Linked DNA regions of Homo sapiens: all the other regions are linked to region 2. The links are contacts of gene promoters, found by promoter capture Hi-C in human tissues and cell types (Jung and others, 2019). All regions are on one chromosome and are shown on one strand. Each heading gives the region's core, a stretch centred on a gene start or on the middle of the fragment in contact. The rest is flanking DNA. Distances are from core to core; before and after follow the strand shown. Region 1 overlaps RFXAP (regulatory factor X associated protein). Region 2 holds the start of CCDC169 (coiled-coil domain containing 169). Region 3 overlaps SMAD9 (SMAD family member 9).

The links. The method cuts DNA at HindIII sites, captures the fragments that hold promoters and counts their contacts. A contact is called where the count stands out against the background at its distance.
Region 1: a contact is called between a fragment that was not itself captured here and the fragment with the promoter of CCDC169 in region 2, in 1 of the 25 tissues and cell types used here (dorsolateral prefrontal cortex).
Region 3: a contact is called between a fragment that was not itself captured here and the fragment with the promoter of CCDC169 in region 2, in 1 of the 25 tissues and cell types used here (mesendoderm cells).

Annotation. Positions count from the first base shown.
Region 1 is chr13:36,826,004-36,830,162 of GRCh38, forward strand. It overlaps RFXAP (regulatory factor X associated protein), which reads left to right. Exons shown (of 3, transcript NM_000538.4): 3 at 1,640-3,101. The coding sequence ends at 1,750. Among named protein-coding and RNA genes, the nearest start is that of RFXAP, 8.9 kb to the left of the region's middle. The HindIII fragment of the contact is 6,804 bases long and covers 1-4,159 here.
Region 2 is chr13:36,295,514-36,299,885 of GRCh38, forward strand. It overlaps CCDC169 (coiled-coil domain containing 169), which reads right to left and starts at 2,301. Exons shown (of 8, transcript NM_001144981.3): 1 at 2,124-2,301; 2 at 265-344. The coding sequence starts at 2,206. It overlaps CCDC169-SOHLH2 (CCDC169-SOHLH2 readthrough), which reads right to left and starts at 2,301. Exons shown (of 16, transcript NM_001198910.2): 1 at 2,124-2,301. RefSeq lists enhancers at 1,928-2,889, 2,890-3,852. The HindIII fragment of the contact is 10,512 bases long and covers 1-4,372 here.
Region 3 is chr13:36,860,021-36,864,294 of GRCh38, forward strand. All of the region lies in intron 5 of SMAD9 (SMAD family member 9), which reads right to left. Among named protein-coding and RNA genes, the nearest start is that of RFXAP, 43 kb to the left of the region's middle. The HindIII fragment of the contact is 6,808 bases long and covers 1-4,274 here.

The sequences.
Region 1 (4,159 bases), core at 645-3,144, 530 kb after region 2:
TCTACAAAAAAATTTAAAAATTAGCCGAGTGTGATGGTATGTAGCTGTAGTCCTGGCTACTCAAGAGGCTGAAACAGGAGGATTGCTTGAGTCCAGGAATTCGAGGCTGCAATGAGCTATGATCATACCACTGTACTCCAGCCTAGGCAACAGAGCACCCTATAAATCATTAAACATGATCAGTTTCCTTACATATATATAAAATATGTTTGCCTCTTTGACAGCTTCAGTCTTAACTGCAAAGAAAGTTTATTACAAAAATTCCTGTAATTTGATGAGGAAAACCTTTGGCTTCAATACATTGCAAAAGATAGAAACAGAAAAAAAAGGCAGAATACCATTAAATGATATGGAAAGGTATTCAATATCAGTAAAAATAAACAAAAAGTGAAAATTATTTAAACGATTACGCACAATGATGCAGTGATGTGGAGACTTTCATGAAATGGACATTCTCAAGTAGTTAATGGCATTATATATTGGTATGGCACTTTCAGAAAGCAGTTGGGCAATATGTACCAGGAGTCATCCCTTTCAACTCAGACATCACATTTAATATGAAGACATTTACAGAATGTAAATCCTAAATATGGATAGAGTTAAACATAAAGGTATTGCCAGGAATATATTTCTCATAAATAGTAAAAAAGGTAGTTGAAACAGCCTAAATGTCCAACAGTGTCATAACAGCTAAGATGATTTTTAAATAAAACTGTTTAATAAATAGAAAATGTACTAAGATATAATACATATAATCTGAAAGTCAGTATTTAATGATAGTATGTTCACTTTATTCAGTTTATCTTTTTGCAGCTTATTGGGGCCAAAGATTTTTTTCTCTATAAATTTATGTAAGTATTTTATTATAAAAACCTATTACAGGAGACTGTGGCAGGATGATTGCTTGAGCCGAGGAGTTCAAGACTGCAGTGAGCTATGCTCACGCCACTGCACTCCAGCGTGGGGAACAGAGTGAGACCCTGTCTCTAATAATAATATGTTAATCATAGTCTGTTATATTTGTTATATTATTACAACTATATTTTAAAGTGATGAGTGTACAAAAAGGTATTGGATGTTTTAGAGCAGTTATATTTTTTCCTGAAATTTTGGTATATACCGATATATATGTACATATATATATATACACACCTATACACACAATTTTTAATTTCTTTATGAAGACTTAGTTGCCTAATGAGAAACTTGACTTCTAGCACTAGTTTGTATGTATGTACAAACTGGCATTTAGCTGCTATTTTCACATGTGGCCCCCTTTCATCTCCATTTTTTTTCTTGCTATAATCCTGGGTCAGTGCTACTTTTAGCTCTTTGTTCTTACATATTTCAAGAGAGTATATTTGCTGGCATATTAGAGAAGGTGTTTCCTTTTTACACAAAGTCACCAATAACAGACTTCACCCGTTATTTTTAGGTTTTAGTATTTTGATGTGTGACATCACATTATTTTTAGTTTGCAGCTTAGTTGCAGTGCATCCGATGTAAAAGTGCTTTTGATTCAGGCATATTCTTGTGAACATATTGTATCATATGTAGGGACACATCAGAGTAATTAGCATGAAAACAGTCTAATGACATAGATTAATGCTATTAATAATTTTTTTCTTTTCTTTCTAAGTCGTTACTAAGAAGTCCAGAAGTAGTGCAATTTTTACAGAAACAGCAACAGCTATTAAATCAGCAAGTTTTGGAGCAAAGACAACAGCAGTTTCCAGGAACATCAATGTGAGGGAACTTACCAAGAACATCTACATGGTTTTTTATCTTATTGTAATAGATGAGCATATTTTTTTACCAGACATAAATGGGGTAATAATCTATGCCTGTAGAACATAAACATTTTCCTGTAAATGTATGTGTGCATTTGGGGATAAGTAAGTATTGCACTTTGTGCATCTAATCTTTCAGATTACTGTGAGTTTGAAGAAGTCAGCTTATCTTTCCAAATAACATTTAATTATAATGTTTTTTAAAAAATATATTCCTCTTCAGTCATTGTTACTGAAGGTAATGAAGCAGTTACTTTCTGTGGAAGTCATAAAGTTAATAGATATTAATCTTGACTCATCTAGCTCAGTGGTTCTCATCAAGGGTCAATTTGATTGTCATAGTGACCTTGAAAACCACTGGCTTTTAGTGAGTGGCCAGGAATGCTAAATGTTCTGCAGTGTCAGGGGTAGTCCCACATACTAAAGATTGTCTCACCCGCAGTGCCAATAACACTCCTAAGAAATGTTGATGGCTATTTTGTGGTGCTAACATGTAGTTGGGGCACCTATAATTGGGTTCTCTTAATAACCTTTCTTTGCAGTTAAGACTGAAGCTGTCAAAGAGGTAAGCACATTTTATATAGACGTAAGGAAAGTGATTATTGTTTAATATCTGTGAATTTAGGATGTGCATCTCTTTTCAGAGGTGTGTTAGTAAAACCTGACGGATTAACTAAGCACACTGGGATGTGTCTCCTACAGTTGGCTTCTCTCTTTGATGTTACCTGTTAGTGCTGATCTCTTAAAGCAGACATTTCTTGTTTGTTGAATTTGTGAACAGTATAGATCTCAGCCCACCAATGCCAAGACAAAATTATTTTTCTTATACTTATTTTTTATTAAACAAAATGAAAAAGATCCTTTTCAAAAAGGTGATCCTGAAAATAAAACTAACACTCCAGTATTTTGTCATTGTTTTTCGCAATTGAGCTATCTGAAAACTGTTATTCCTAAGTAATGTTCAAAAATGATAAGTAATCTGGATACCTTTTTCTTATACTTTCTCCTAGGAAAACTTTAAAACTTTAAAAAGGCAAACCTACCAATAGGAATAACAAATTAAATGTCAAGAGAGTATATCCAATATTAGGATATAAATGTATGTGTCTCAAGTTTAACTCTACAAAAATTTGTTACTTGTTTTTTAAACTCTATATATAAAGTTCGACTTAATCATGGCTGTTCTAAGAAGTACTTATGGAGAGCAAGAACGTTTTTGTTCATTTCTTAATGTGTGTGTTTTTACTTGCATATCTGTTCAAAACACTTTTAACAAAATTAATTCATTAAAGTCCAGTTGTTGACCTTTGAGTTAGCTGATTTCTTTATTCTGTTCTTTAGTTTATTCTTACTAGATGCAGAGGAATTCATCTACTGTCTGTTATTAACTGTTAGTTTATTCTCATACTTACGATGTTGAGAGTTTTTTTGAAGCTTAAGTTACCCTTTATGGTGGAAAACATTAGCTTATGCTTCTTTAGATGGAATAATGGGAAAGGAGGGAAATGGGAAATGGATGGAAATGGGAAAGGAGGGAAAATAATAGCCCAGTGAGAGCTGAATGAAAAGGGACTGAATTTAAATATTTGTAAGAACTTTGTGATGATGAGTAATTGTCAGACGTGGGATAGATAACTGAGAGGCTCAGAATCTTTACCAAGGATATTTTTTAGGATAAGGTAGCTGCCTGTTCATGAATTTGGATAAGAATAGTAGGACAATATTCAACACAATTTAATTTTTGTCTGCCACATTAGACATTTTTTTACCTTATAAAATGATCAATAAAGCAATAAGGTTTATTTTGGGTAGATGTATTGCAGTGTGTCTCCAGTTTTTTATCCTTGTGTTTACTCATGCCATTTGCCGTGTGACTTTGCTGCTCATCCTACCCATTGAGCTTGAGTTTATTTACCTACCCCTTAAATCTAGAGGACTGGCCTTGTGACTTGTTTTTGCCAGTAAAATGCAGAGGACATAACAAGATGCCATCTCTGAATAGACTTCTGAGAGTTTTGAACATTTCCACTTGTTTTTTTAGAGTCCTACCCTGCTGCCATGGTAAGAAGCCCAGCCTAGCTTCCTGGATAATGAGACACATAGTCCAGTCACCTGTATTGTACCAGCTAATAGCTCTCAACCAGCCACACATGTGAATGAGGCTATGCTAGATAAGCTGTCCAGCCAGCCTGCCAGCTGACCGCAGATACACTTGATAACCAACTGAGATCAGCCAAGCCTGGCCCAAATTTGCAGAGCCACCAAATTGACCTGTAGATTTGTGAGCAATTATAAATTATGATTGTAAGCCACAGAGTTTTGGGGTAGTGTGTTAGATGCAGCATTTTTGTGACAGTAGGTAGCTGATA
Region 2 (4,372 bases), core at 1,051-3,550:
ATTGATGTCATGTAACAAAGTTTTTGCTAATTAATGAACATTTTGAACTTGAAAGGTAGAAAAATAATTAAATAGTAATAGGTTTGATATTCTGAAGTATCAGTTTTAAAGCCTCTATCATAAACTATCATTAATGTGGCCAAAAAGCAATACTGAAATGTTGGTACTATTATTCAATATATGGAATTTAATGCACCATAGATATCCTGGTAAAATGAACAATAATTATACAGGAGTCACAAATATAAGTATTTACTTATATACCTTCATTGTCAGTATTGAGTTTGGCTTCCAGTTCCGTAATCTTGTGTCTTAGTTCAAATATTGAGAGTTGCACTGCATCCCTGTTATTTAAAATATTTTTGTTGATTATAATTCAATTAAAAATAACATCAGAAAAATAATACATAGTAACCCACTACTACTTCAGGAACAATTTACTATGACACATTATTTACTGAAGGACTGGTTAAGAAATAAGACTCAGGCAAAGGAAGGCTTCCAATTAGTCAGTTCTAGGACTCAAATATGCACTAAAGCTCAAAGACCCCCAGGCAACCATTAGAAATCTTTTATTTATTTTTATTTATTTTTTTGAGACAGAATCTCGCTCTGTCGCCCAGGCTGGAGTGCAGTGGTGCAAACTCGGCTCACTGCAACCTCCGCCTCCCGGGTTCAAGCAATTCTCCTGCCTCAGCCTCCTGAATAGCTGGGATTACAGGCATGCGCCACCAAGCCCTGCTAATTTTTTTGTATTTTTAGAAGAGACAGGGTTTCACCATATTGGCCAGGCTGGTCTCGAACTCCTAACCTTGTGATCCGCCCAGCCTCGGCCTCCCAAAGTGCTGGGATTACAGGCGTGAGCCACCAGGCCCGGCCCTTGGAAATCCTTTATTTTTAACTTAAATATCATCCTAAAGAAGTTAGTTACCTGGTTTTTCAGAACCAAGCAAATTAGGCACTGCACATTATTACAGAAAGGCATACCTAGGGCAATACATAACAGCTGACAAACTGAAACAAAGAGAAAAAAACAAACACTAATTTAAAAGGTTAGCTATTTAGGGCATCAGTAAATAGAACATTATCATATGACAGGGCCATTTATTCAATAAATATTTTTGAGTGCCTATTATGTTCAAGGCATTGTATTAAATACGGAAGAATTCAGTGAACAGTGAACAGAAAAATAGCAATAGCGGCAGCAAAGTTCCACTGGATGCGTATCACAAGCCAATGCTAAGTTCTTTATAGTGCATTTCATTCCAACCTGGGAACAACAGCAGGAGGTATGAGATGACTATTTGTATACCAGTCTTAGAGCTGAGAAAACTGAGGATTAAAGAGGTTAATTAACTTGTCTAAGATTGCATAGTTACTGAGTGACAAGAGATGGAGTTTGTGTTTTTGCAGGACTGTCCTCAAGTACTTGCTCTTATTCTCTACTTCCTCAGAATACACAGAACCTGTCCTCAGAACGCGTGTAGTTTGGTAGCAAAACAAGAAATAGACAGGCAATTAAAATACTGTGACTGGAGCTACAATAGAGGAAAACCCAGAACCCTATCTAGGCACAAAGGAGAGTCCAATTCTCACGGGACTTGTGGATGGAGTTGGGAGTATGTCCAAAAAATACTTTAAATGTTTCAAAAATTTAACACGAAGTACGAATACTGTTTTTAAAAAGCATAAAGGAGGAGTAACAGTTTTACTAAATGTCATTTTATGAAGTTCCCCTTAAAGGGATGAAAGAAAAAAAAAACCCCGTATAACTAAATAAAATCTTTGGAATTTTAAGCAGAAAACCTGGATTTATGGAGACATCAAAACCAAACACAACTTTTGGCATTACAGTATATGGGCAAAATACACGCCATATGATTGGATCCTTAAGGGCAGCACATCCTACCCGGAAAGCTGCCTACTTAACAATACCAAAGGCTTACTCAAAGAGGCACGTGAATCTTTCGCATGGAATACTTTTGGAACCCAGACCGAAGTGCCCAGGGGTTAATCACGGCGCCGGTCTTACAGCACCCTCAGCGGCTTCAGCCCTGAGACTCTGCAGGTGAAGGCTCGGGGGGTGTGGACGGGACCCCACACCGCGCCGCCCGCCGACTCACTTCTTGCGGACTTCTTCCAGCAACTGCTGTTTCAGGCGGTTGGTGCTCACACCGTCGAAGTTGTAGTTTCTCTCTTCCTTCATAGTGTCAGGCCAGAGACCTCCCGCGTCTTTCCCCTCAGCACCTTAGAGCACAAGACATTAAGGGCCACCCAGAAGCCAGTACGGCACGAGGCGGTGAACCCCAACCGCCCCCCGGTCGCACCTCCCGCGCCTGCCCGCAGAGGCACGTGGTGACGTCATAAAGCGATGCCCGCAGGCGGCAGGGGGTGGGGCGAGGGCAGCCGGGGAGACTGGAGAAGCCTACTCTGTGCGGTGGAGCGACCCTGGATAACAGCTCCAGGGACACTCCTTGCTCAAGACGCTGGGGTTAGACGTGCTCCGGCTACACAGCGGAGTGTCAGGGGGCCAAGAATATCCCTCTCCTTTTTCTTCCCTCCTGCTGGCTTTGGTTGCTTTCCTAAACATTGCCCCGGACGGCAAAGTCGGCTTCACTCTTAGCCCTTGTTAGGGAAACGCTGGATCCAAGATTAGCTGCGCCCTTCTTTGCTTCAGTTGAACAAGCACCAGAGTCGCTGATTTGGCAGTGTCGGAGCGGGAGGAACTGGTCTTAAAAAGGTACCTCCTGAACTCGGGAAGACTGCTAACCCTCCAGATTATTGTTTTGCATCTGTGTGCTGTTCATGAACATACCTCAGAGCTGCTCACTGCAACTTGAAATTTCATTATATTTTTAATCACAAAGTTTGCATCCTACCCTTGATACATCTGTGTTTCCTTGACAAAAAGAGACAAACTCTGTAAAATATTTGAAGAGATTTATTCTGAGCCAAATGAGTGACCAATGGCGGGTGACAGCCCTCAGGAGATTCTGAGAACACGTGCCCAAGGTGGTCAGGGTACAGCTTAGTTCTATACATTTTAGGGAGACATGGGACATCAATCAAATGCATGTTAAGATATACACTGGTTCCATCGGGAAAGGCAGGGCAATTGGAAGGGGTGGGGGACGGGGTGGCTTCCAGGTCACAGCTAGATTCAAAGATTTTCTGATTGGCAATTGGTTGAAAAGTTACTGACTAAAGACTTAGGAATGTCTTTAGAGAATAAAGGGGTTGTGGAGACCAAGGTTTTAGTGAGAATGGGATAATTGGTGTGGAAAACACAATTTGGTGTCAGAAGTGTTGTGAATACATAGTTTTCCAATTGAGTTTCTGGATGAGATTAACATTTCAATTGGTAGACTGAGTATAGTACATTGTCTTCCCCAATGTGGGTGGGCCTCAGCCAATCGACCGAAGACAGAATAGAACAAAAAGGCTGACCTCCCAGGAGTAAGAGGGAGCTCCTACAGCCAAACAGCTTGAGCTGGAACACTTTTCCAGCCTTGGGCTCAGACTGGGACTGCACATCAGTTTGCTTGCATCTCCAGCTTGTCAACTGCAGATCCTGAGACTTCTCAGCCTTCATAATTGTACGGGCAAATTCCTTATAATAAATCTTTTATACACACACTCCCTATTGGTTCTGTTTCTGTGAATTACCCTAATATAGGAGGTATGCTTATCAAAATTTTGTCTAGCTGTTAAGTCTGAAAGGGCAACTCACAACCAAGTAAACAGAATAGAATGAAGTGAAAAGGACTAGATTATCTGTTGACAAATCCAAATATACAGAGGATTTCTTTTTTGAGACGGAGTCTCATCTGTCTCCCAGGCTGGAGTGCAGTGGCACAATCTCAGTTTACTGCAAACTCCACTCCTGTGTTAAAGCAATTCTCCTGCCTCAGCCTCCCAAAGTAGCTGGGACTACAGGCACGCACCACCATGCCTGGCTTAATTTTTTTGTGTATTTTTAGTAGAGATGGGGTTTCACCATATTGCTCAGGCTGGTCTTGAACTCCTGACCTCGTGATCCACCCACCTCTGCCTCCCAAAGTGCTGGGATTATAGGCATGAGCCACTGCACCCGACCCAGAGGATTTCTTAAAAAGATCTGTTAGCAGGATCTCACTGTGGGAAATTAGGAGCAAAGGCAAGCAGAAAACAGGTTTGTCAACAACTACAGAAACCACAGATTTGTGTTTCTGGCAGAGATAAAGGACCTGAATTTACCCTCCTGCCTGAAACAACTAAAAAACTAAGAGGAACAAAAAAAGAACATTGAACATCAGGCAATAAGGGAAAACGATCACCAAGAGATGAGACACAAATGAGGCAAGCTCCCAAATTGGCCTGGGCCTGCCAGGGT
Region 3 (4,274 bases), core at 364-2,863, 560 kb after region 2:
TGGTGGCTGCTTTGTCCATGGAGCAGCCATTCTTTATTCCTTTCCTTTCTTAATAAACTTGCCCTCACTTTACTCTATGGATTTGCCTTAAATTCTTTCTTGTGAGAGATCTAAGAACCTTCTTTTGGGGTCTGGGTCAGGACCGCTTTCCGGTAACATCTCTGCAAGGAGCTGACTGGTGAAATCCTTATGTCAAGATAATTCCTTTCATAAAACAAGAAGAATTACTAGAATTATACAGAACTTGAGATATACAAGAAAATAAAGATTCATAAAATGGTTTAAAAAAAGCCCAATTCCAAAAACAATGCAATGATTTGGAATATGTGATAATTATTTTCAGGATACGCTTGATCTATCTCAGAAAGTTCAATAACCAGGGTTAATGGTTATCACTTATTTTCTCCCACAAAGGGAGAAATTTTTTTACCTTTTTTTTTTTTTTTTGAGATGGAGTCTCGCTCTGTCGCCCAGGCTGGAGTGCAGTGGCACCAACTCGGCTCACTGCAAGCTCTGCCTCCTGGGTTCACGCCACTCTTCTGCCTCAGCCTCCCGAGTAGCTGGGACTACAGGTGCCTGCCACCACGCCCGGCTAATTTTTTTTTGTATTTTTTAGTAGAGACGGGGTTTCAGTGTGTTAGCCAGGAGGGTCTCGATCTCCTGACCTCATGATCCACCCGCCTCGTCCTCCCAAAGTGCTGGGATTACAGGCATGAGCCACCACGCCCGGCCACCAGCGTGTCTCTTAGATATTAGGTAATCAGTGGGGGTAGCTATCATCATCATCATATTATTATTATTTGATATGTCATTGTAGAGAGTTCAAGTGGTCTGCCTAGTTTCTAAGGAAGAATATGGATAGATCCCACACTGGAATGAGATGTTCCAGGCTGCCCAAGGTATTGCCTTTGACATTTAAGTGGTAGCTTTTGGTGTGCTAGTGCTAACTGTTAGTAGCTATTTAAAGCATCTTGCTAGTGAGGTCAAAGTCATAAGTTCAGTCCCTTTGTACCAGTTAACTGCTGCATGGCTACAAATAAATGCTTTCTACCAGCCCCTCTACCTCAGGGACATACCCACTAGATGGTAAGTGGGGTAAATGAGGACCCATCATCACCACTAGAGAAAACAAAACTCAAAATGCACGCAGTGCTGACAGGGTGGCAACATGACCTTCCTTTAGCAGGGCCAGCCATTTAGCTAATTTAAGTCACAAGGAATAAAAGCCAGAAATGGTGTGAAGGCTAATTGATATCTACTGGGTAGGGGAATGGCTCATCATTAACTATAATAAAAAGAATTTTTTTTTTTTGAGATGGAGCCTTGCACTATTGCCCAGGCTGGAGTGCAATGGCACAGTCTTGGCTCACTGCAACCTCCACCTCCTGGGTTCAAGTGATTCTCCTGCCTCAGCCTCCTGCGTAGCTGGTATTACAGGCACCCGCCACCACACCCGGCTAATTTTTTGTATTTTTAGTAGAGACAGAGTTTCACTATGTTGGCCAGGCTGGTCTCGAACTCCCGACCTCAGGTGACCTGCCTGCCTTGGCCTCCCAAATTGCTGGGATTACAGGCATGAGCCACTGCGTCTGGTCACTAAAAAGAATTTTTAAAAATGATATATTCAGGCCAGGTGGGGTGGCTTACACCTGTAATCCCAGCACTTTGGGAGGCCAAGGCAGGGGATCACCCGAGGTCAGGAGTTCGAGACCAGCCTGGCCAACATGAAGAAACCCTTTCTCTACTAAAAATACAAAAATTAGCTGGGTGTGGTGGTGTGCGCCTGTAATCTCAGCTACTCAGGAGGCTGAGACAGGAGAATCGCTTGAACCCTGGAGGCAGAGGTTGCAGTAAGCTGAGATCGTTTCATTGTACTCCAGCCTGGGTGACAGAGCAAGACTCCCGTCTCAAAAAAAAAAAAAAATCTTCCATCCTTGCCCATCACCGTCTAATTAATCTCAATAGAACAGCCAGGCAATCTTTTCGAAAGTGTAAAGTCAGATCATATTGTAAACCAAAAATAAAACTGGAAGGCCCCGCAACAATTTGAATGGACCCCCTCTCCTCAGCCAGGGAGCTCTAAAATTTAACCTGACAGACTGGTTCAGGCTCCACGAACACTGACTTCCTTGCTCTCTGTGTCACAGCCATTTGAACCAGAGCAACTCCATCTTGAATAGGGGCTGAGTAAAATAAGGTGGAGACCTACTGGGCTGCATTCCCAGGATGCTAGGAATTCTTAGTCACAGGATGACATAGGAGGTTGGCACGAGATACAGGTCACAAAGACCCTGCTGGTAAAACAGAGTGCCATAAAGAAGCCAGCCAAAACCCACCCAAACCAAGATGGCATTAAAGTGACCTCTAGTCATCCTCACTGCTCATTATATGCTAATTATAATGCATCAGCATGCTAAAAGACACTCCCACTAGCACCATGACAGTTTACAGATTCCATGGCCGTGCCCAGGTTACCCTATATAGTCTAAAAAGGAAATGAACCCTCAGCTCCAGGAAATCTCCACCCCTTTCCCAGAAAACTCATGAAAAAGGAAAAAGTCCACCCTTTGTTTAGCATATAATCAAGAAATAACTACATTATCAGTCGAACAGCCCATGCTGCTGCTCTGCCTGTGGAGTAGCCATTCTTTTGTTTCTTTACCTCTCTAATAAACTTGCTTTCAGTTTACTCTATGGACTCACCCCAAATTCTTTCTTGTGTGAGTTCCAAGAATCTTCTCTTGGGGTCTGAATCGGGACACCTTTCTGGTAACATCTTCTCAAATGTCACTTTTCCAGGAAGGCCTTCCCTGGTTACGCTGGTTTAAAGTCTCCATTCTCTTCCCCTGCTTTGTGTTTCTCTATTGGACATACTGTATGTTGTATTTCGTGTCTGTCTTTCCCCAGCAGCAAGCAATCCAGGAAGCCTGCTCATGGTCTTTCTTCCACTGTTGCATCCCTCGTGTCCAGTCTGGCTGAGAGGCGATGCTCAGTAAGTACTCGTGAGATGAATGCATATTACTAAAACCTAATGTCTGTTAACTAACTCCACAGAGCAAGTTAACTCATTTGCTAGCCGAGGAATGCATTTTGCAGATAACTTACTCAGGCTGGTGCTCCTGGAAGCCATGCTGCTCAGAACCAGATAACCCATGGCAGCATCTGAGAGAGAATCCTGTGATCTCACAGAAGACTGACTGCCCTTGCTTTAAAATCTCCCAAGCCAACACTTTTTTCCACCCACACGCTTTATGGCAAGGCTTGTGGCATGTCCAAAAAAAAATTTTTTTCCACATTGGAGTAATTTCTAAGCAGCTCTGAGAAAACTGTAACTTTGTCTTCGGACCATGTGACAGTGAGTACCCTTGCATCGAGGGGAGCACTATTAGGTGCTCCAGTTTGCAGAACAGGTCATCAGTCCCAGCTCTTGCTCATGTGGCTTCTTAACCCTAAAGACGAGCTCTCAGTCAACAACACAGGAGCTACTGATATAATTGGGATATTTGACTCCTCCAAATCTCATATCGAAATCTGATTCTCAATATTGGAGGTGGGGCTTGGTGGGAGGTATCTGGGTCACACAGAAGGATCTCTCATGATCTGCTTGGTGCCCTCCTTGAGGTAATGAGTGGATTCTCACTCTATTAGTTCCTGCCAGATCAGTTTGTTAAAAAGAGACCAGCACCTCCCTCCCTTCTCTTTCTGTCTCTTCCCAGGTGACACACAGGCTCTCCTTTGCCTTACACAGTGATTTTCAGAAGCTTCCTAAAGCCCTCACCAGAAGCACATGCCAGTACAGCCTGCAGACCCATGGGCCAAATAAACCTCTTTTTTTAATAAATTACCCAGTCTCAGGTATTCCTTTATAGCAGTGAAACAGACTACCACACACTCTCCATGTCCTCAGCAGGAGCACCTTGAAGAAGCGACTTGCAGACAGGTTCCTAGAACACATTCAGCACTCCTTTAATACTTTAATCCTGTCTTTGGATCCACTGGCACCAGCAGAAATTGAACATGCAGACCAATCTGCAAAGCTCCTCAGCAAACTGCTTCACAACATTATGTGTTAATGTTTTGCCTTGAGAGTTCACTGAAGGTTCTTCTAAAAATCATTTGAAAGTAAAGCCATGCTCAAGAAACTTGTTTAGGAATTAATTCAAAGATTATTTCCTTTGAGGAATGGCTATTTTCCCCCTTTGGGATAAAAATTACATTCCAGAGTGAGTTTTTCATTTCTTCCCTCCTTGTCAGGAAACCTAGAGTAAAATCAC